Regions from separate parts of the Homo sapiens genome. Here all the other regions are linked to region 5. The links are contacts of gene promoters, found by promoter capture Hi-C in blood cells and fetal thymus (Javierre and others, 2016). All regions are on one chromosome and are shown on one strand. Each heading gives the region's core, a stretch centred on a gene start or on the middle of the fragment in contact. The rest is flanking DNA. Distances are from core to core; before and after follow the strand shown. Region 1 overlaps SNRPN (small nuclear ribonucleoprotein polypeptide N). Region 2 overlaps SNHG14 (small nucleolar RNA host gene 14). Region 3 holds the start of ATP10A (ATPase phospholipid transporting 10A (putative)). Region 4 overlaps ATP10A (ATPase phospholipid transporting 10A (putative)). Region 5 holds the start of UBE3A (ubiquitin protein ligase E3A). Region 6 overlaps LINC02346 (long intergenic non-protein coding RNA 2346). Region 7 overlaps SNHG14 (small nucleolar RNA host gene 14).

The links. The method cuts DNA at HindIII sites, captures the fragments that hold promoters and counts their contacts. A CHiCAGO score of 5 or more calls a contact.
Region 1: a fragment that was not itself captured here is called in contact with the fragment with the promoter of UBE3A in region 5 in 8 of 17 cell types (activated CD4 T cells, total CD8 T cells, naive CD4 T cells and 5 more); the score reaches 9.0 in activated CD4 T cells.
Region 2: a contact is called between a fragment that was not itself captured here and the fragment with the promoter of UBE3A in region 5, in 6 of 17 cell types (activated CD4 T cells, total CD8 T cells, M2 macrophages and 3 more). The highest score is 7.3, in activated CD4 T cells.
Region 3: a contact is called between the fragment with the promoter of ATP10A here and the fragment with the promoter of UBE3A in region 5, in 1 of 17 cell types (naive CD4 T cells). The highest score is 6.9, in naive CD4 T cells.
Region 4: a contact is called between a fragment that was not itself captured here and the fragment with the promoter of UBE3A in region 5, in 1 of 17 cell types (total CD4 T cells). The highest score is 5.0, in total CD4 T cells.
Region 6: a contact is called between a fragment that was not itself captured here and the fragment with the promoter of UBE3A in region 5, in 2 of 17 cell types (total B cells and naive B cells). The highest score is 9.2, in total B cells.
Region 7: a fragment that was not itself captured here is called in contact with the fragment with the promoter of UBE3A in region 5 in 1 of 17 cell types (non-activated CD4 T cells); the score reaches 5.3 in non-activated CD4 T cells.

What each region holds. Positions count from the first base shown.
Region 1 is chr15:24,969,289-24,971,988 of GRCh38, reverse strand. All of the region lies in intron 3 of SNRPN (small nuclear ribonucleoprotein polypeptide N), which reads right to left. All of the region lies in intron 6 of SNHG14 (small nucleolar RNA host gene 14), which reads right to left. It also overlaps a transcript of SNURF not described here. Among named protein-coding and RNA genes, the nearest start is that of PWARSN, 11 kb to the left of the region's middle. The HindIII fragment of the contact is 2,097 bases long and covers 344-2,440 here.
Region 2 is chr15:24,990,821-24,993,636 of GRCh38, reverse strand. All of the region lies in intron 15 of SNHG14 (small nucleolar RNA host gene 14), which reads right to left. Among named protein-coding and RNA genes, the nearest start is that of SNORD108, 5.3 kb to the right of the region's middle. The HindIII fragment of the contact is 1,625 bases long and covers 603-2,227 here.
Region 3 is chr15:25,861,949-25,864,648 of GRCh38, reverse strand. ATP10A (ATPase phospholipid transporting 10A (putative)) reads left to right here and starts at 1,322. Exons shown (of 21, transcript NM_024490.4): 1 at 1,322-2,001. The coding sequence starts at 1,553. The HindIII fragment of the contact is 7,208 bases long and covers 1-2,700 here.
Region 4 is chr15:25,839,739-25,842,438 of GRCh38, reverse strand. All of the region lies in intron 1 of ATP10A (ATPase phospholipid transporting 10A (putative)), which reads left to right. Among named protein-coding and RNA genes, the nearest start is that of MIR4715, 7.7 kb to the left of the region's middle. The HindIII fragment of the contact is 939 bases long and covers 872-1,810 here.
Region 5 is chr15:25,437,682-25,440,381 of GRCh38, reverse strand. UBE3A (ubiquitin protein ligase E3A) reads left to right here and starts at 1,358. Exons shown (of 13, transcript NM_130839.5): 1 at 1,358-1,893. RefSeq lists enhancers at 351-1,296, 1,297-2,242 and silencers at 1,094-1,433, 1,794-2,213. The HindIII fragment of the contact is 4,364 bases long and covers 1-2,671 here.
Region 6 is chr15:25,938,825-25,941,644 of GRCh38, reverse strand. All of the region lies in intron 1 of LINC02346 (long intergenic non-protein coding RNA 2346), which reads right to left. Among named protein-coding and RNA genes, the nearest start is that of LINC02346, 38 kb to the right of the region's middle. The HindIII fragment of the contact is 2,377 bases long and covers 141-2,517 here.
Region 7 is chr15:25,016,605-25,019,396 of GRCh38, reverse strand. It overlaps SNHG14 (small nucleolar RNA host gene 14), which reads right to left. Exons shown (of 148, transcript NR_146177.1): 21 at 249-370. Among named protein-coding and RNA genes, the nearest start is that of PWAR6, 14 kb to the left of the region's middle. The HindIII fragment of the contact is 189 bases long and covers 1,272-1,460 here.

The DNA.
Region 1 (2,700 bases), core at 143-2,642, 470 kb after region 5:
CCACTGCGCCCAGCCAGCAATATCCATTTTTATAGCACTGCAACACTTGGGACCTTCAGCCATCCAAAGAGACAACAAGGATCATGACTGTGAATGAGCAAGACAGATCTTACTGTGGTGATGAAAATGTTTCCAGAGTAGTTCATGGCAATGATTGCACAGTTCTGTAAATTTACTTAAATCATTGCTTCATGCACTTAAATTGGGTGAATTTTATGTTTATCAGCACTACATCACTAAAGCCGTTTTTAACCCATTTATGCCAGAGGTTGGAATTTTTTTGTGAAAAATCAGACCTTGGCAATGACCTTGAGCAATAGGATATAAATAACTCCCACAAGCTTAGCGGTCCAGAGGTATGAAACACATCTAGGGATGTGAGTTATGGCCCAAAGAACTGAAGACCTAGAGAATTAGGGACAGATTATTATTTTATATTTATATATATATCATAATATAATAATAACCTGTATAGCTAGAAGAGATATATGTTTTACTCACAATAGGAGTTGACCTCCTACAGCAGTTAAAAGGATTCCCTTAAGAGACAGATTTGGAATTTAGAAACAGTTCTCTCTCATCCCTAAATGTGATACAATGTAGTCATGACCTTGTAAGTGAAAGAAGAAAATAAATCACTGCAGAGTGGTCAAATTTATCTTTACAGCACAAGAAAACAAAACTTCATGAGAAAGGCGACGAGAGTAGCAACATCACACTGCAAGGATGGATGAGCAGTCATAGTGTATCTTCTGAGATCAAAGGGCACATAAGCAAATTAACGAACTGGTATCCCTCACAGAAGCACAAGTTTTCAAACTTTAGGAAACTGTAGACTTTCAAATGATTAAACTACATAAAAATGTAAATCTACTTTAATTCAAAAGTAAAATAAGATGACTAGGGTTGGCCAAAGCACACATAGCAAATAGTAAAATAAGATGACTAGGGTTGGCCAAGGCACACATAGCAAATGAGACACACCATGGAATATCAGTATTGATCTGTTAAAATTTAAAATTATAGAGGGTCTCCATAGAGATCCTCCATCGAAGAGTATGCAAAAACAAGTGACAAAAGAAAACTAAATGCAAAATATTAATACACAATAATTCCAATTAAAAACACAAGAAAACAAATTTCCTTTATTGGAAAGGTTTATTTAACAAAAACAAAAAAACACCAGAATACAAAGGGTGGTACTGAGAAACTAATGGTCTACTAATTTTTAGTGGCCATCAGCACTTCTCATGATGTGTTTAGAAAACAATGTAACAAAAACGTTTAAAAGTCATACTAATATTACACCCTGCATCCCAACTACTAGGTAGGTATCCAGTTGGATATGTACCCTGGTAAATATTTAGGTACCAAAGAAAAACAGAATATTCATAACACAATTTTTTTTTGAGATAGAAGTCTTGCTCTGTCACGCAGGCTGAAGCGCAGTGGCACAATCTCTGCTCAATGCAACCTCTGCCCCTAGGGTTCAAGAAATTCTCCTGCCTCAGCCTCCCGAGTAGCTGGGATTACAGGTGTCCCCCACTACACCCGGCTAATATTTGTATTTTTAGAACAGATGGGGTTTCGCCATGTGGCCAGGTTGGTCTCGAACTTCTGACCTCAGGTGATCCACCTGCCTCAGCCTCCCCAAGTGCTAGGATGACAGGCGTGAGCCACCACACCCGGCCACATTAATAGTTTATTTTCTTATTTTTCCTGGCCATCGTGTGCCTTACATTTTTAATGAAAACGGGTACGAAGTGTTTAAATGTTGTTAAAGACTACCCATCTTCCTCCACAGCAGACTTTAACATGACTCTTAGACTGATCCCTTCCCCAAGAAATTCATCTGATTGTCTACGCTGTAATGTATACTTCGTATATACTTCTATAATCTATTCTTTATCACCTTCTATGACATTATGACTATATTGACTGGCCCCCACTTTGGTGTTTTCTTCTTTCAATCTGCTCCTCTAAAATAAAACTCAGCCAATTATTTTCTTTTAAATAGCAAGATACTAAGTATTTTAGGCTTTGCCTGTCATTCAATCTGTCACAACTACTCAAAGCTGCACCACCGTAGCACCAATGTGGCCAAAGATAACATAATAAATGAACTGAGTTGTGTTCCAATAAAATTTCATTTATAGACACAGGTAGTGGTCCAGATATATTACCAACCCTTCTTCTACAGGAATACTAGTAATGGGTACTATTTAGGTAGAACTAGCAGTTGAGACTAGAATAAGATATAATTAAGTATCATAAAATTAGATGGTCCTACTTGCAGACTATAATGTATGACTTAAATGTTGTATTTAAAAATTTACAAAAATCTGTGAACTGAACTGAGAAGCTAAAAAATTCCTAAAAAGTAAAAAATCAGTTGTGCACACCTATTCAATGAAAAATTCCCTTACTCAAGGGAAAAGCTTTGGACAATGATTAGATTCCAATTTGCTTATGCAATTGCTAGAAAATGTTGTGTATAAAGGATTCAAGAAAGGAGGATTTCTCAGAAAATTTCTGTCTCCTTTGATTTAAACTCAAAATGGGCCGGGCGCGGTAGGTCACGCCTGTAATCCCAGCACTTTGAGAGGCCAAGGCAGGTGGATCACCTGAGTTCAGGAGTTTGAGACCAGCCTGGAGAACATGGTGAAACCCCGTCTCTACCAAAAATACAAAAATTAGCCA
Region 2 (2,816 bases), core at 166-2,665, 450 kb after region 5:
AAAACAAAACCAAGAAAACCCTCAAAATCAAACCTCACAAGCACACAAAGATGCTAACTCTATTGGCAACAATGATTCTACTTTTGAATAAAAATATATTTCCAAAAATATGACAGAAATTGTATATTAAAATATTTTTGTAATATTTATCTTCTAGATACAATTATATATTCTGCATCAACCAAATAAATCCCATTTAAACATGGCATAGCAATTCTACTGATCAAACTAAAGTGTTTATGCCCTTGTCTAGTGGTTTACTGGTCACAATATACGCCTATTAGTAATCTGTATGCAGATGCTAAAAAGCAAAAGGTAACATTTTTCTACTATACATTTAGCAGCCATACAGTATCTCTGGCAACTTAAGAATATTTCTATCCTATGACAATAAATGTTGTTTATACAGTGATATGTATTTATATATAAACCTGCATACACACAAATATACGTGTTGGCAATTCCTACAAATCAAAGACTAAACAATTAAAGCAAAACAATTATATATTGTGACTGTCTTATACACATGTAACAAAATTCCCCTTCAGCTGCTCATTTACACACACAAATAATCTGCCTATGTGAGGGAGGAAACAAAAGCTTTCACTACATATGTATGTATTTATCTATCTATCTATATAGATAGATATATAGATATGTGTTTACGTGTGTGTATATATATTTAGAACCATGCAGACATAATAGCTCCTATGCTTTAAAAAACATATAACCATGTATATTGTATACACATAAGGGTTCCATTATCACCCAATGATCTAATGAACTCAGGTTTCACATCCCATTGCTAGTATCCCCATAAAAACTTATAAAATGCCTCTACAGATAGAAACATTTTAAATCAAAAACAACTCACTATTATGAAAGTCACATATTTTTGGCAAATGAGAACTTTTCTAACCTATGCTATTTGACTCATGTGGCAATTTTTCTGTTGTATAAAAAACTGCATATACACATCTGAAAACTATAAACAAAGGCAGACCGACATTTATGATGACATTTCCACCATGTTGCATCTATCAGAAAAACAGTCACATATATATTTATAGAGATATACAGTATTATACTACAAATTGTAAGAACATTTCTATTATATCTACCACAACCTAAAAATTAAGCCCAATGATCCAGTGAACAGTTTGCTTTTTGCAAGCAAAACTGGTTCTATCCCCTATGAATTAAAAATGACATCTATACATTTAGAAAAATAGATGTTAAAAATATTTAGCATATCCACCAGCAATCAATTAATGTTTAGGGGCAATTTAATGAATTAATGTTCTGAGAGGTGATTTAACACTCCCACTAGCAAAAGGAAAGTAGTCTACCTGTTTACAATGTAATGTTAACATATAGGTAAGACCACCACCACCATCTTCACGTGGATTTAGGTCTGGAGGCCCTGCAACATATGCTCATGTGCACACAGGGCTCCAACACCCCACCCTCTTATCTCCTAAATCCACATCTAATATTTGCCTAATACTAACAAAGCCATCTAAGAGTCTAAACACTCCTATCAGTAACCAATGACATCATTGTGTAACAATTTAATGTCCCCCAAAATGCAAAATGTCAGCCATCTCTATGCTGGTTAAGATTCAGTAACACAATCCTGTCGGTTATATACACAAAGTAATACAAATCCCACCCAACCCTTAACATGTAAGTGTTCTAGAGGCTGGCCTTTTTGGCAATTCCATCATGAAAAGAAAATCTTACACCACGTAAATTTTAACAGAAAGACCACTGACAAAATAACATCCACATCCATGACTTTCATACATAAAGCAGCATTAATAAAACTTCTTAGTTAGAAGTTGTATACATTAAGTTCCCCCAGAAAAACATCCATAGCAATATAAACCAAAATAAAAGGATTTTTAATATACATCAGAGGTACTTTAACAATTATATTTCTAAAATCATTTCTTAAAATGTTTCTACATACTTCAGCAAACTAATTGTTAGCAATATCTATGTACCAAGAAAATGTCATAAAACAATTATTTAGAAACTTCAAACACTGTATCCTCAAATGCACATAAACAAAATGCCTTTTTTTCTAATTAACGCTTCCCATGTCATTTTCTATTACCCTTATGCACTCAAAAAGTGAATACAGAATTGTGTATATCTTTAAAAGGTGACCTGAGAATTCCTTTCTAACAACTGTTCCAGAATAAAATTCTAGCAAATAGAAGCTTCCCCAGGAAACCAGTTATTTAGCCACAGCAACTACATTAACAAGCTTAACAGATTCATGTTCAAAATCTAAGTGTTTGCTTTTAACTAATTACATTCCAAGATTATGCAAAAAAATACAACTATTACACATTTAATTTCACTGTCTGGCTTACCTAAGGCACAATGAACAATTCATACACATTTATCATTCAATGTGTATCTTACATTCTCATTTCAATACTATTATCTAAACATAATTTTCCCACATATTTAAACAAACTCGTAAGCTAAATGTCCACGAAAAAAAGTTTATATTATTTGAATATTTGGAGCTCTTTCACAATGCTAGCAGGAGTTGGGGAATGATGTCCTTATTGCATGTGCACACAAGTATATCATGTGCAGGGCTTTTACTGGTAAATCTTCCAAAGGCGAGTGGACTCTCCATAGCAAGAAAAAAAATATTATTGGTTGATGAAGTTCAGGCAAGTATCAATCTATCTTTCTTTCTTCCAAGGTTTTCTAGCTGATGAGGCATGTAGCTGAATTCAACATGTTATCCTTCCCCTTCTATCCATATATTCCTGCAGGGTTGGCTTGTCAACTTG
Region 3 (2,700 bases), core at 73-2,572, 420 kb before region 5:
CCCTGTGACTGGGGGATGGGATTATTTTCTTCACACCTGTCACCACTCTACCTTCTAACACTGGGTTCTGGGCAACATTGTGGATGGTGGCAAAACTGGGCAGAGATGTAAGAATGTCATAACTGGAGCCGGGTAAGCCAGGGTGCTGGAGGGGAGGGCCTCCCCAAGCCAGGGTCCTGGCGAAGACGTGATTTGAGTCCATCCAGGGCAGTGCCTTGTTAGCAGGCACCCCCAGGAAGAGCCTGGGGCCACGGCCAACCGCCCAGCCACGGCCTCCTGGGCAAGAAATAACTGCTTCTCATCTCTGTACTTCTTGAGTGGGAGGCAAACAGTCACAGCCATGAAACATCTGTGGGGTCTCACTGCGGACGTGGGGGACTCCCAGCTCCTTTTTCCATGCCGTGCTTATTCTCCCACCCCTTCTCGGATGCCCCATGATGTGGAGGGGAGCCCTTCGCCCCACACTTCTGGGACACCCTCCTGACGCTCCCCTCTCCTCCCCACAACCATCCTCGCCTCCCCACAACCATCCTCGCCTCCCCCGCCGTCCGGGCCATGACAGCCACCTCAGAGCTACAGCGCACAAGGAGCGTTTCGGTCCTCATGATTTCCCAGGGAGGGAAACAGACACTCAAATACCTGCAAACCAAATTCTGTCTTTGCTATAGCGATATATTTCTCCTTTCCATGAAGAAAGAACAGAAAAAAGAAAAAGAATTTATTTAGGAGAGGAAGGAAAGGCAGTAATGATGATGGTGGAAAGGAAACGGTCTAGTTCGCCCAACAACGGAATCTGAAAGTGGTGGGGGCTGGGAAGTGGGGTAGGAAAGAAGTTCTTAGAGGCAACGCGGAATCGCCCTTCCCAGGGCTCCCCAGGAGCAGAGGTCCTGCGTAAAAAAGACTTAAAAATTGGAGCACTGGATGCCATGGATCCTTTGGATTTTGATTCCAGTTGATCCCTGGAGTAAGGTCCTAACCGGGGTCTCCCGAGGTCGTTTCGCCGTCCAGGATGGAGCAGGTCTGGCCCCTGGAAGGGCGCGCGGGCTGCTTGGGGACGGGGGCGCCTTTTCTCGCGCTTCGCGGTTTCCTCTCTCCTACTGCAGGCAGCGCGCGTTTGCAGCGTTTTGGGACCGAACTGATGCTTCTGGGAAACGAAACTAAACCTCTCTGAAGTTTCCAGCTCGGGCTTTTTTTGTTTCCCGCTATCCGGCGTGGCCCAGTCCGGGCGCGGAACGAGGGCGGGGCCGTGGCCACCGCGGCGGAAACGACCCGGGCCGGGGGCGGGCGGCGAGGACAAGGGGGCTCTGTGCGGCACCCGCCCAGCTTGCGCCCTGGGGACTGCGGCCGGGCGGCGGGGCTGGACGGGAGTGGACGGGGCTGGGCGCGGGCTGGGCGCGCTGGGCCGGCCAGGCGGCGCGCTGACCGCGGTCTCCGTGCGTCCCGCAGGCGGGGAGCTCGCACCGCCGCGCCCGGGCCGCGAGTGATGATAACCTAAGAGGCCGGCGCGGGCGGGCGTGAGCGGCGGAGGAGCCGGGCGCGGCGACACGCGGCCATGGAGCGGGAGCCGGCGGGGACCGAGGAGCCCGGGCCTCCGGGACGGCGGAGGCGCCGAGAGGGCAGGACGCGCACGGTGCGCTCCAACCTGCTGCCGCCCCCGGGCGCCGAGGACCCTGCGGCTGGCGCGGCCAAGGGCGAGCGGCGACGGCGGCGCGGGTGTGCCCAGCACCTGGCCGACAACCGGCTCAAGACTACCAAGTACACGCTGCTGTCCTTCCTGCCCAAGAACCTGTTCGAGCAGTTCCACCGCCCGGCCAACGTGTACTTTGTCTTCATCGCGCTGCTCAACTTCGTGCCGGCGGTGAACGCCTTCCAGCCCGGCCTGGCACTGGCGCCGGTGCTCTTCATCCTGGCCATCACGGCCTTCAGGGACCTGTGGGAGGACTACAGCCGCCACCGCTCCGACCACAAGATCAACCACCTGGGCTGCCTGGTCTTCAGCAGGTGAGTTGGGCGGGCGGGCGAGCGAGCGCGCGGTGGCGCAGGGCAGGGCGCCCCGGGAACTTGGTGTTGGGCACAGTGATTGGCAGGGGCTGGGTGCTTAGAAGGCAGCTCCACTCAGGGTGGAGGGCCCGGCTGCGCGGGACCCGGTGCCGACCGAAGCCACAGCGCCGCCAAGGCCTCTCTGTGCCTCCGCCGCAGCTAAAGGGGCGCCCTGGATGCGGGGACGCGTGGGGATCCCCTGTCACTCCGTGTCGGGGCCAGAATGATCCCAAGGCTAGAAACCGACGGCCGCTGGACATCCTCATCCACAGCCGCTCCCACCTGAAGTGAAAGGCAGGAAAAGCCAGCCTGGCCCCCTGGCCTGAAGTCCCTGCCTCAGTCTTCGGCCAGGCACAGTGGTCTCTGAACAGCCGGCACAGGACAGTAAAGCTCAGTCTGCTAACAGCTCGGCTCAGGACAGCAGCAAAGTGAAACTGCCGCCAAGTGCTGATATGTCTGGCACGGCCCAGGTACCAGGGCAGGGGAAATAACAGCAGTGTCCATCCTCCACTGTGAGCCATGAGCCGCGAGCCAGGCACCGCCCGGTAGCTGCCTGCCTAATTTTCTTCATCTTAACCTGCTTCCTGGGGGAAAGAGGCTGTGGGGTGTTTGTGAGCCCTGCCACGGGCAGTACCAGGGGTGACCCTGCGATGGACCACT
Region 4 (2,700 bases), core at 92-2,591, 400 kb before region 5:
TAAATAATTTAACAAGAAACAGTAAAAGGACGCTGGAAACTAAAAGCAGGCAGACTGACTGGGGCCTCAGGACATGAGGGGGTAGCAACACCATGAGACCCTGGACTTCTGTTTTATCTCCTGTATCCTTCCAGTGTGGGCACAGGAAGGCCTGTAACCAGAACCGCCAACAGGTATAGAGAAAACAAAATAAAGCAAAACCAAAAGGCTCTGTCAGGCCAAAGGGGAAGCTCAGTGAGACCTAGTGGGAGCCCAAGGCCCGCTCCACACCCAAGCCACCAGTGGACAGCCTGATGCTGCTGTGTGGACCACTCCCTATCCGGTGGCTCCAGGAGACCCAGACCCAGGGGCTTTTGCCCATCCACCCACACAACAGCAACAGGTGGCCCAGGGAACTGCCTTCCACTCCTTTATACAGAGCATTTACAAAAAACCTACAACCAATTTCACAGTTGAGGATGAAAGACTGATTCTACAAAACCCAAAACAAAACCTCTTACAACTGAAAAATGAGCTCATTACAATGACAGGATACAAGATCCGTGGCTATGAATTGACTGCATTTCTGTATCCCCACAATGGACTAGTGAAAACTGAAATCACAAACATAATACCATTTACAGTTGCACCAAGAAAATAAAATACTTACATATAAGTTTCACAATGCTCATACAGGATGCAGGATGAACATTACAAAATGCTGATGAAAAATATCAAGGAACATCTGAATAAATGGAGAGACTTCCCATGTTCATGGATCGGAAAATGAACATAATAGTGAGTCAGTTTTCTCTATAATTATCTATAGATTTAACGTAACTCCTATCAAAACCTCAGCAATGTTTTTTTTTTTTGTAGACATACACAAGCTTATTCTACGTGGAAAAACACAGGTCCAAAAATGTCCACAAGATTTCTCAAAAAGAATAATAAAGTGGAAGCACTCACTTCTCCCAATATTAATGCTTACTGTGGAGCTGCAAAGTGTGGTATCAGCAAAGGGATGGCACATATGTAATGAACCAGAGTGAAGAACCCAGAAATAAGTCCCAACAGATATGCCCAATTAGTTTTTGACAATCAGTTCAGTGGAGGAAGTATATAGTTTTCCAATAAACGGTGTGGGAGCAATTAGACATCCATTAGAAAAAAAAAAAAACCCTAAACCTCACATACCTCATATAAAAATTAACTTGTTAAAGATTATAGATTTAAATGTAAAACGATAAAACTTCTAAAAGAAAACATAAAACATTTTTGGGATCTAAGACTAGACAAAGAATTCATAGACTTGACACCAAAAGCATTATCCTTTGCTGTGGGAAAGATCCAATGAAAAAGAGCAGAGAAATTCCAGACGAGAGAGAATATTTGCAAATCACATACCCAACAAAGCACTAATATCTAGAATACGTAAAGAACTCTCAAAATTGAACATTAACAAAACAATGAATCCTGTTTAAAAATGGGCAAGACATGAGACATTCACTGAAGAAGGTATGCAGATGGCAAGTAAGCACATGAAAAGATGTTCAACATCTTTACAAAACAGGGAAATGCAAATTAAAGCCACTCAGAGATACCACTGCGCATCTATCAGAATGGCACAAATAAAAAGAGTGATACCACCAAACGCTGCTGAGGGTGTGAGAAATGGGATCTCTCCTACGTTGCTGTGGGAATGTAAAACATACCCACTCTGGAAAATAGTCCCTTCACAAAACTAAAAATAGAATTGTCATATAATCCACCAGTTGCACTCCTGGGCATTTACCCCAGATAAATGAGAACTTACATTCACAGAGAAGCTTTGCAGAAATGTTCATCGCAGCATTTTTTTTTAAATAATAACCCAACACTGGAAATAACCTAGATGTTCCTCAAAAGGTAAGTGGTTAAAGAAACTGTGATCCCTCCATACGGTGGAATACTAGTCAGTAGTAAAAAGGAACAGACTGTTGATAAACACAGCAACTTGCATGGGCCTCAGGGAGATTTTGGTGAATGGAAAAAGCCTGGGAGCTAAATGATGAGAATTATGAACAGAAAGAAGGGAACAACAGACACTGGAGTCTACCTGAGGGTGGAGGGTGAGAGGAGAAAGAGAAGCAGAAAAGATAACTGTTGGGTACTAGGCTTAATACCTGGGTGATGAAATAATCTGTACACAAACCCCTATAACGTGAGTTTACCAATGTAACAAACCTTCACATGTGCATAGGTTTGTTACCTGTGTAACAAACCCCCAAACCTAAAATAAAAGTTAGGAAAACCTAATTTCAAAAGGATATATGCTGCGTGATCCCATTTATAGAACATTTGTGAAATAACATTCTTAGGGGGATGAGGGACAAGTTAGTGTTTGCCAGGGGTTAGGGATGCAGGAGGGGGTGAACGTGGCCCCAGAGAGGTAGCATGAGGGGTCTTGTCCCATTGGCGCCATCTTGATTGTGTGTGGGTACTATTTCGGTTGTGGTTGAGAAACTGCACAGATGCACATGCGCACACACACGCACACGAATGCACTTAAAGCTAGAGAAATCTGAATAAGCTTTGTCGGCTGTACCAATGCCAATTTCCCGGTTTTGATTTTGTCCTCTGGTTTTGGGGCATGGTGGCCTTAGGGGAGGCTGGGTGAAGGGTGCATGGGACCTCCCTGTACATTTCTTTGCAACTTCCTATGAATCTGTAATTATTCCG
Region 5 (2,700 bases), core at 109-2,608:
ATCTTAAAATCGAATATGGCTTAATACTATCATTATCATCAGTTGTCCTGGAATAACTTAAATTCTTCTAGCTTATTGTTGGTTTTTCAATGGTTGGTTATAGTTGTGAGGCGGATACACACACACACCCACACACTTGGCTATACAAAAAAGATGTTCCGAGACTGACAGTTAAAAATTACACTGCTGGCCGAGCACTGTGGCTCATGCCTGTAGTCCCAAAACTTTGGGAGGCCGAGGTGGGAGGATCACTTGAGGCCAGGAGCTCGAGACCAGCCTGGGCCTAACATAGCAAGACACCATTTCTAAGTTTAAAAATAAAAATAAATTTAAAAAAGATACACTGCTATGTACGACTGTTGATATAAAAAATCTGAATACTAGACATGGGTACTCATCTAGTACTTCAAGGGCTTATCAACAAAGTTGCAAGTTGTAACACTATGAATTGTTAGTGATACTCTTTTGGCTTTGCTAGCAAGTGTTGTAAAGCTATACACACACACACACACACACACACACATACACACACACACCTTTTAAAATGGTGACCCTGGTACCAAATATGACTTTAAATGGATTTAATTTTAATGGCTTTAACTACGTTCAGCTGTCATATGGATCAAAATTAGCCTCTATCCAGCTGGGGTCAACCAGGGAGCCACTTTTCTTAACCGACGACCTACTGAACGTCAACAACTGCAGGAGACGGGACTTTACCTTCGTCTCTGGTAAACTAGTTGACACATCCTGTGTTGGCAAGAGGCCTAAGTAGATGACCTTGGTCCTCTAAAATCTGGCCTGCACTCTCGGGGCACCCCTGCAACATCTACAAAGGCAGCTCCAGATAGAAAAGGGTTGGGGTCGAAAAGCCAATAACGGCAGGCACCTGCCCCGCCTCGGGGCTGGGGGGCTATTCCAGCGGCTTCAGCTAACTTTCAGAGCCATTCGTTTCCCAACAAAGTCTGAGGCGTTCCTCTGCTGGGTACACCAAGGGGCTCTGCAACCCTCCTGGGGGGGGGGGTGCCCAGAGGGCTTCCGGAAGTCCCAGGTTTATTCTTTCGGGTCACAGACAGCAGAAACTAAAAAGAGGGATTACCCTTTCTGTCCAGTCGCAAGATGGCGACCGAGCCTGGTGGGACTCCGAGGGGCCGCAGGCCACCTCCTCTTCCCAATGGCCCGTGCGCCGGCGGCGACGGCAAGCGGGAGGGAGGCGGGGCCGGCGAAGGAAGGAGGGGCGGAGCGCGGCGCCCTCCCGCGCGTCTTGGCCCCGCCCCACGTCCCCGCGTCCCGGCCTGGAGCCCTCGCCCGGCCGGGCGGCGCGCGCTGCCTGCCGGGATACTCGGCCCGCCCAGCCAGTCCTCCCGTCTTGCGCCGCGGCCGCGAGATCCGTGTGTCTCCCAAGATGGTGGCGCTGGGCTCGGGGTGACTACAGGAGACGACGGGGCCTTTTCCCTTCGCCAGGACCCGACACACCAGGCTTCGCTCGCTCGCGCACCCCTCCGCCGCGTAGCCATCCGCCAGCGCGGGCGCCCGCCATCCGCCGCCTACTTACGCTTCACCTCTGCCGACCCGGCGCGCTCGGCTGCGGGCGGCGGCGCCTCCTTCGGCTCCTCCTCGGAATAGCTCGCGGCCTGTAGCCCCTGGCAGGAGGGCCCCTCAGCCCCCCGGTGTGGACAGGCAGCGGCGGCTGGCGACGAACGCCGGGATTTCGGCGGCCCCGGCGCTCCCTTTCCCGGCCTCGTTTTCCGGATAAGGAAGCGCGGGTCCCGCATGAGCCCCGGCGGTGGCGGCAGCGAAAGAGAACGAGGCGGTGGCGGGCGGAGGCGGCGGGCGAGGGCGACTACGACCAGTGAGGCGGCCGCCGCAGCCCAGGCGCGGGGGCGACGACAGGTCAGTGTTGCCGCGGCCTGCGCCAGGCGGCGCTGGCTCCCCTCCGTCACTCGGCCGGCCTTCGGGGCCCGCTGTGGCGAGGTCGACACCCCCCTTCCCCGCCCCCCGCCGCCGAGGCGAGTGTTTGGGGGCGCGTGGTCCGAAGGGGCTGGTGCCAGAAGTAGGCCCCTGGTGGCCGCGGCTGCTGCAGCCGTAACTGTCAGTCCTGGCTGAGCGACGGCGGGAGGGTTTTGTCGCCCGAGGGGACGCGAGCGGGCCCGGGGCGGGGCGGGACGTGCGAGGCGTCGAGATTTGGGCCTCCTAGGAGCCAGGCTCTTCGAGCCAGCCGGGGCCCCAGACAGGGAAGGGCAGGCCCTTTCCTTCAAAGGGGAGCCCTTTCTCGGCGTTTTCAAGGTTTTTGGCTCTCTTGGGGAAGACATATTTAGCCGTGTGCTTGGTGGGTTGGGGTTTTGGGGGTGGATTGATGGGAAGGGAGGGCGGATGAAGTGGTATGTCAAGCCCAAGGGTTGTGCGCACAGGTTACTCTGTGTTACCGGCCACCAGGATTTCTGAAGTTGAACGTGAGTTATTGGCTTTGCCAGAGACTGCTGTGTTATATGCAGACCTGTATGCAAGCAGTTGGCCTTTTTTCCCCCCCCTTTTCAGTGTAGAAAATGAAAAGGATGCTTTCCTCATCTTGGTGGTAAAGGCTTTTGTTGGTAAAGGTAGAATTGAATGTACCAAATGCCTTAGTCCGTAAAATTTTAGAAATAATTTTAATACAGACACTGGTGAAGCTTGGCAACCTTGAAAGAGAATTTAGCGTCT
Region 6 (2,820 bases), core at 80-2,579, 500 kb before region 5:
TAAAGCGGGGCAAGACGTGCAAGAAGAGCTCATCTCACAGTTCATTCCTAGCCTTCCCAGCTGGCTTCCAGATCCCACGATCTCTGCATCATCCCAAAGAGAAACACACTTGACAGGACACCCTACCATCAAATCAAGCTTGTGTTTTTCAGATATTTTTGACCAACACCTACATCATAGGAAATATACTTAAAATTGTAACCCAATACATGTGCGCATGCATACACACACACACAGACCACGCACTTGAAGCTAAAGTTTCACAAAAAATACCTGATATGATGTGCTATAGGCCGAATTATGTCCCTCCTGCAAAATTCATATGTTGAAGCCCCGACCCCCAGGACCTCAGCATGTTCCCTCATTTGGAGAGGGGGGTCTTCATAGAGGTAAGTTGAAATGAACTCATATGGGTGGGCCTTAATCCGGTAGGACTGGTGTCTTTATAAGAAGTGGAGATGAGGACAGACAGATGCAGGGGAATGACCATCAGAGGACACAGGGGGAAGGCATCTTGCTGTCTACAAGCCAGGGAGAAGGCCTCGGAAGGAACCAACCCTGCAGGCACCTTGATGTTGAATCTACAGGCTTCAGAACAGTGAGACAATCCATTTCTGTTGTGTAAGCCCTCCAGTCTATGGGACTTTGTTACAGCAGCCCTAGCAAACCTAATGCATGGTGCATTCCAATAGTTTCTACTCTATTCCTTTTGTTTCTTCTTTAATGCTGTTTGAAACAAAATCGATTCTAGGATCACAAATAGACCACACATGCAGGTTGAAGAACTGAGAGCAGTCTAAGATCCATTTTCTACACCAGTAATTGAACACGTGTTACTAATAGCTTCAGAAATGAAAAAGTCTATATACGTATATATATCCAAAACAGAGAATCACCTTGAGGGAGGGAGTCTAAATATAATGGCTTTAACAGAGGAAATGAATTTCTCCAATCATCCCTGACACAAACATAATGAATGATACCTTCCAACGCTCTTTGAAAAAGTAAATGAACTCGAGTTTAAGGAGAGTAAAGCAATTTTTCCAGCTCTTTCTGAAGCAATGATCAAGAAAGGTCTTGGTATTTCCATGTCACGCTGCAGAGAAGAAAGCCAGGAGTCAGCCAGGATCGAGCCACTAGGCTTGTGCTGTCCATTCTGAAAATTTTGGGAAAGAAGAGTGGGTACCTCTGGGGCTGGGAGAAATCTCTTCTCTACCAGAAAGGCAAGAAATTATGCCAAGCGGGGTGTGGTGGCTCATGCTTGTAATACTAAAACTCTGGGAGGCTGAGGTGGGAGGATTGCTTGAGCTCAGGAGTTTATCAGCCTGGGCAACATAGTAAAAACCTGTCTCTACAATTTTTTTTTTTAGTTAGCCAGGCTTGGTAGTGTGTGCCTGTGATCCCAGCTACTCAGGGGGCTGAGGTGGGAGGATTGCCAGGAAGTCAAGGCTGCAGTGAGCTGTGATTGTGCCTCGGCACTCCAGCCTGGGTGACAGAGTGACAAATTGTACCCAAATCACGTGAAAACTTACAGTATTTCTAAGAGTAGAGTATTGGCAAAATGACACAGTCCTGCTTCCAGGAATGCTAGAAAACCATGATCTTGGAGTAAATATCATCGTCATCCTCCGCATCACATACTGCATGTAATGGGAGGGATTAGAATAGTCATGAGAATATGTGTCTGGAATTTCACAGCTTAGTAAACACGTCCCACAGATAGTATGTTGAAGCCTATTGGCTCTTTCATGAGTCGGGTGTTGGTGCACAGAGGGTCCAGGCCTGGAGAATGGGGAGCGGGCCCCATGCTCTGGAGCCAGGTGGGTGTGAGGGCCTGGGCCACATGGTGGGTGCACCCTATCCTAGCCCAAACCCGCGGTGAGCCTCTACTTCCTGGGGCTCACTTTGTACTGAGGGCAAGATAACATTGCTTCAAGCTGCAGTGAGAAGTAAATATATTAGTCCTGGGAAGCACTTAGAATGGTGCACAGCCCCCACCCCCACCCCATCTAACCCCCACTGCCCCTGTCCCTCCTTCCGCCCCACCCCACTGTTTCTGTCCCGGGGTGTCAGTCTTTATTATTTGAACACGAAACACCCAAGGCCCTTGTGAAAATGCAGGTTCTGTTTCAGCGCCTGGGGTGAGGCCTGAGATTGCACTTTCTTAACCAGCTCCCAGGTGATGCTAAGGACACTGGCCTGTGGGCCTTGTTTTGGGTAGCAAGTATCTAGAACATGCAACAGAAACTGCTTGTTCCTCAGAGACAGAAGAGGTTGAGTATGGTTAACCATTTTTACATATGTGTTTTTTTAAAAAACACGCTTGGATGCCACCGTGCAGGAAGTACAAACCAAGGGCTGGGTCAAACCTCCTGGCCAGGCAGCTTGGACAGAAACATAATGAGAAGCATCTGGGCTTCATGCAGCTGTGACTGAGGGGACTCTCTGAGCCCTCACTTCCAGGGCTGCAGGTCATGCACCCAGCCCAACCGCAGCTTCTGCTCAGCTGGTGAAGCTTACAGGCTGTGAAAGTTAGTGAAATGCTTTGTGTTCAATCGCCTGGGGTAGGCTTCAGGTATCCAAACTGGGGTCGGGGGGGGGGGGCGGCGGGGGGGCAGGGCTAAGGCTGGAGCAGAGGCAGCTTTGCCATGGAAGCTGAGGGACCCCCTACTTTGGGATGCCCTACGGCTCTTGCACCTGGGTCCTTACTGGCATTTTTTCCAAAAACCAACCACATTTCAGAAAGCATCACAAATACCCACCCCTAGCTCTGCCACACTCGCTAACCAAAATGTTTTCCTGCCCAGTTTCATCCTTCAC
Region 7 (2,792 bases), core at 117-2,616, 420 kb after region 5:
TACATACTACGGTGAGAGTAGATAAGACTGGTAAATCAAAACCTGCATAAACTACATATCAAAACTGTGTCAAAATTTAGGGAGCCCTTTTATCTCTTTTATTTCACCTAACTGATAATCACTCCACAAATTCACAACTTTGTGTTTTATAGAATTCATGTATAGTTTTGGATTTTAAAATATTACAAATTAGATTCAATATCAAACTGGTCAAAAATAAACAGTACACCAGGGTTACTGATTCTTACCAGCACTTTTGAAGAATGACGTCTACAAAAATAGTAAATAAGCACAATGATTTGGATTGATATGCAAATTTCAGTCAGTGAAGAAGTTCTCACTTCTTAAACTGGTACCACCTCAGCTATAACTGTGAAAAATATGGGAAAATTGTGACATACGACCAGTTAATATACAGAAGGTGAAGTTCTCTCATTCCTCAACCTCCTAAAGTCCCCAAATTATTAAAATATTGAAAGATCATTTTAATTAAACTAACTTGTGAACCCACTGCAGTTAGTTTTTGCTTATTTGCTAACACATCATGTTGAGAATGCAAAAACAAAACTTTTATAATTTCATAATGAATCTGCCCGTGAAAATATACCATTGGCTTTCAAATGTCCATCTTTCCAGTCAACTTTACATATATGACTTTATTATTGCATCAGCCCATTCTCATAGTCATCAAATTCCTGTACCATCACCTTGTGAATCAACCCATCTATCAGTCTATTAAGCCACTCTAAAGCCACCAAACAGGCAGCTATCACTTATGCAACCAATGTACCTGAACCCTGATCCCTACATTTATCCAAGGTTTTAGATAGCCATATTTGTACTCATCAATCTAAAGATCTATCCATACAGCATTCCATTTTTGATCCATCCAATGATAACACCTAGGCATATAACCATCTGCACCTTCACTAAATGATTCCACTGTGCATATAACCATACATACACCCAACAGGTTTTTAAAACCTGCATTCTCCATTCTTGCATCCAGCCATTTGCTCATATTCTACTTTCCATCTATTTCTTACATTATTCAATACACCCAATTTTGCATGCATCCGTTATTATATTTCAAATTATATTAGACGATTATTATATTCATCTTTCTGGGCTTTAAATATCCAATCCCACATAATTTCAATGACTAGTTATTAAATCCACATTAACCATATAATACAAAGAAAATTTCAGTAACCATTCTTGCATCCTTCCATCAACTCACATGTCTGCCTGTCTACTACTACTACCAAGCTTGAAAACACCAATCCAACCCTGCCTCCTTGAACGCACCTATCCACCAATCACTGAATTATTGTGTGTAACTTTCCCTCTGTACTCAGATTGAAGTCATGGCCACTTCAAAATTTTACTGGCTGAACACATCTACTTCTTACTAATGAAAATATTCCTGTGGGTCTGTTATGATGGCTCTCAGGGAAGCTTTGCTAAATATGACAGATTACTGTGCCAAGGGCATTCACCTCTTTTGAAAATTACATATCAACACATGGTTCTACGATCACCATGGTAAGATATAAGTTAGAATCACATATAGGCCACGAAACTCCTGTGCCCATGATGCACATAACACATTTTACATTTTTAATGGGTCACTTTTACTTCCAAAGAAACTAGAAGCCCATGATTAAGACTTAAAATATGAACAAACATCCTCCACAATGCCTATTTTAAAAATAATTAAGTAGGATAAGGGGATTGGGAAAGTGTGCCAGAGGTAAAAGCTACAGCCAAGGAAAACAAGGAAAAAGTGAGCATCTTCCAGGCCCTAGTAAAACACTCTCTAGCACAGTATAGGGAGCCTTCACAGTGTATTTCCAGAGGGATTTCAAAATTTCAATGGAAAAGTGATTTCTATCACATTTGACACCTTAGAGTTTGGAGTTGTATTATAGTTGCCCTGACTCTGCTCATTGTACATTGTACAAAAGGAAATAAGGTTCAATTATTATTTTTTTGAGATGGAGTCTCACCCTATTGCCCAGACTGGAGTGCAATGGCACGATCTCAGCTCACTGCAACCTCTGCCTCCCGGGTTCAAGCGATTCTCCTGCCTCAGCGTTCTGAGTAGCTGGTATTACAGGCACACACCACCACACCAGGGTGTGGTGTATTTTTAGTAGAGACAGGGTTTCACCATGTTAGCCAGGCTGGTCTTTAACTCCTGACGGTGTGATCTGCCCGCCTCAGCTTCCCAAAGTGCTGGGATTATAGGCATGAGCCACTACATGCAGCCAAGGTACAATTATCTTTAAGTTTCACCTATCTCTGGGCCAACAGTAGGTACACTGAGACTTAAGGTACAGATTACTGTGAATTACCTCATGATAGGGAGATAGCATCACTGAGACGCTGGATTTTTACCTGGGTGAGGTTTTTATTGGTTCCCACTGTGAAGGGGATAGTTTCCATTTAAGTAGAAAGTATACCTAGTTTGTGAGACCAGAAAGGTATCCTACAGTAGACACTATCAGTGTTTAACGTGTCCTTTTCATCCTTTCCTTGAGAAAACATAAAATACAGCTTCTAAATCTCCTGAAGTTTTGGAAAACCATGTGATTTACCCAATTCCTTTACCCAATTTACCATTACGTATTTAAGAGGCAATGGATGACTTTCCATAACTCTAACAAAGCCACAGTGAAAAATAAAACCTTATGCTGTCATAAAAGCAATAAGAGGTATTACTGTCTTTGTGACATCTGCCCATGAGTTACTGCCATGAGCACGCAGCATCCTTAACAGTCACTGTTGAA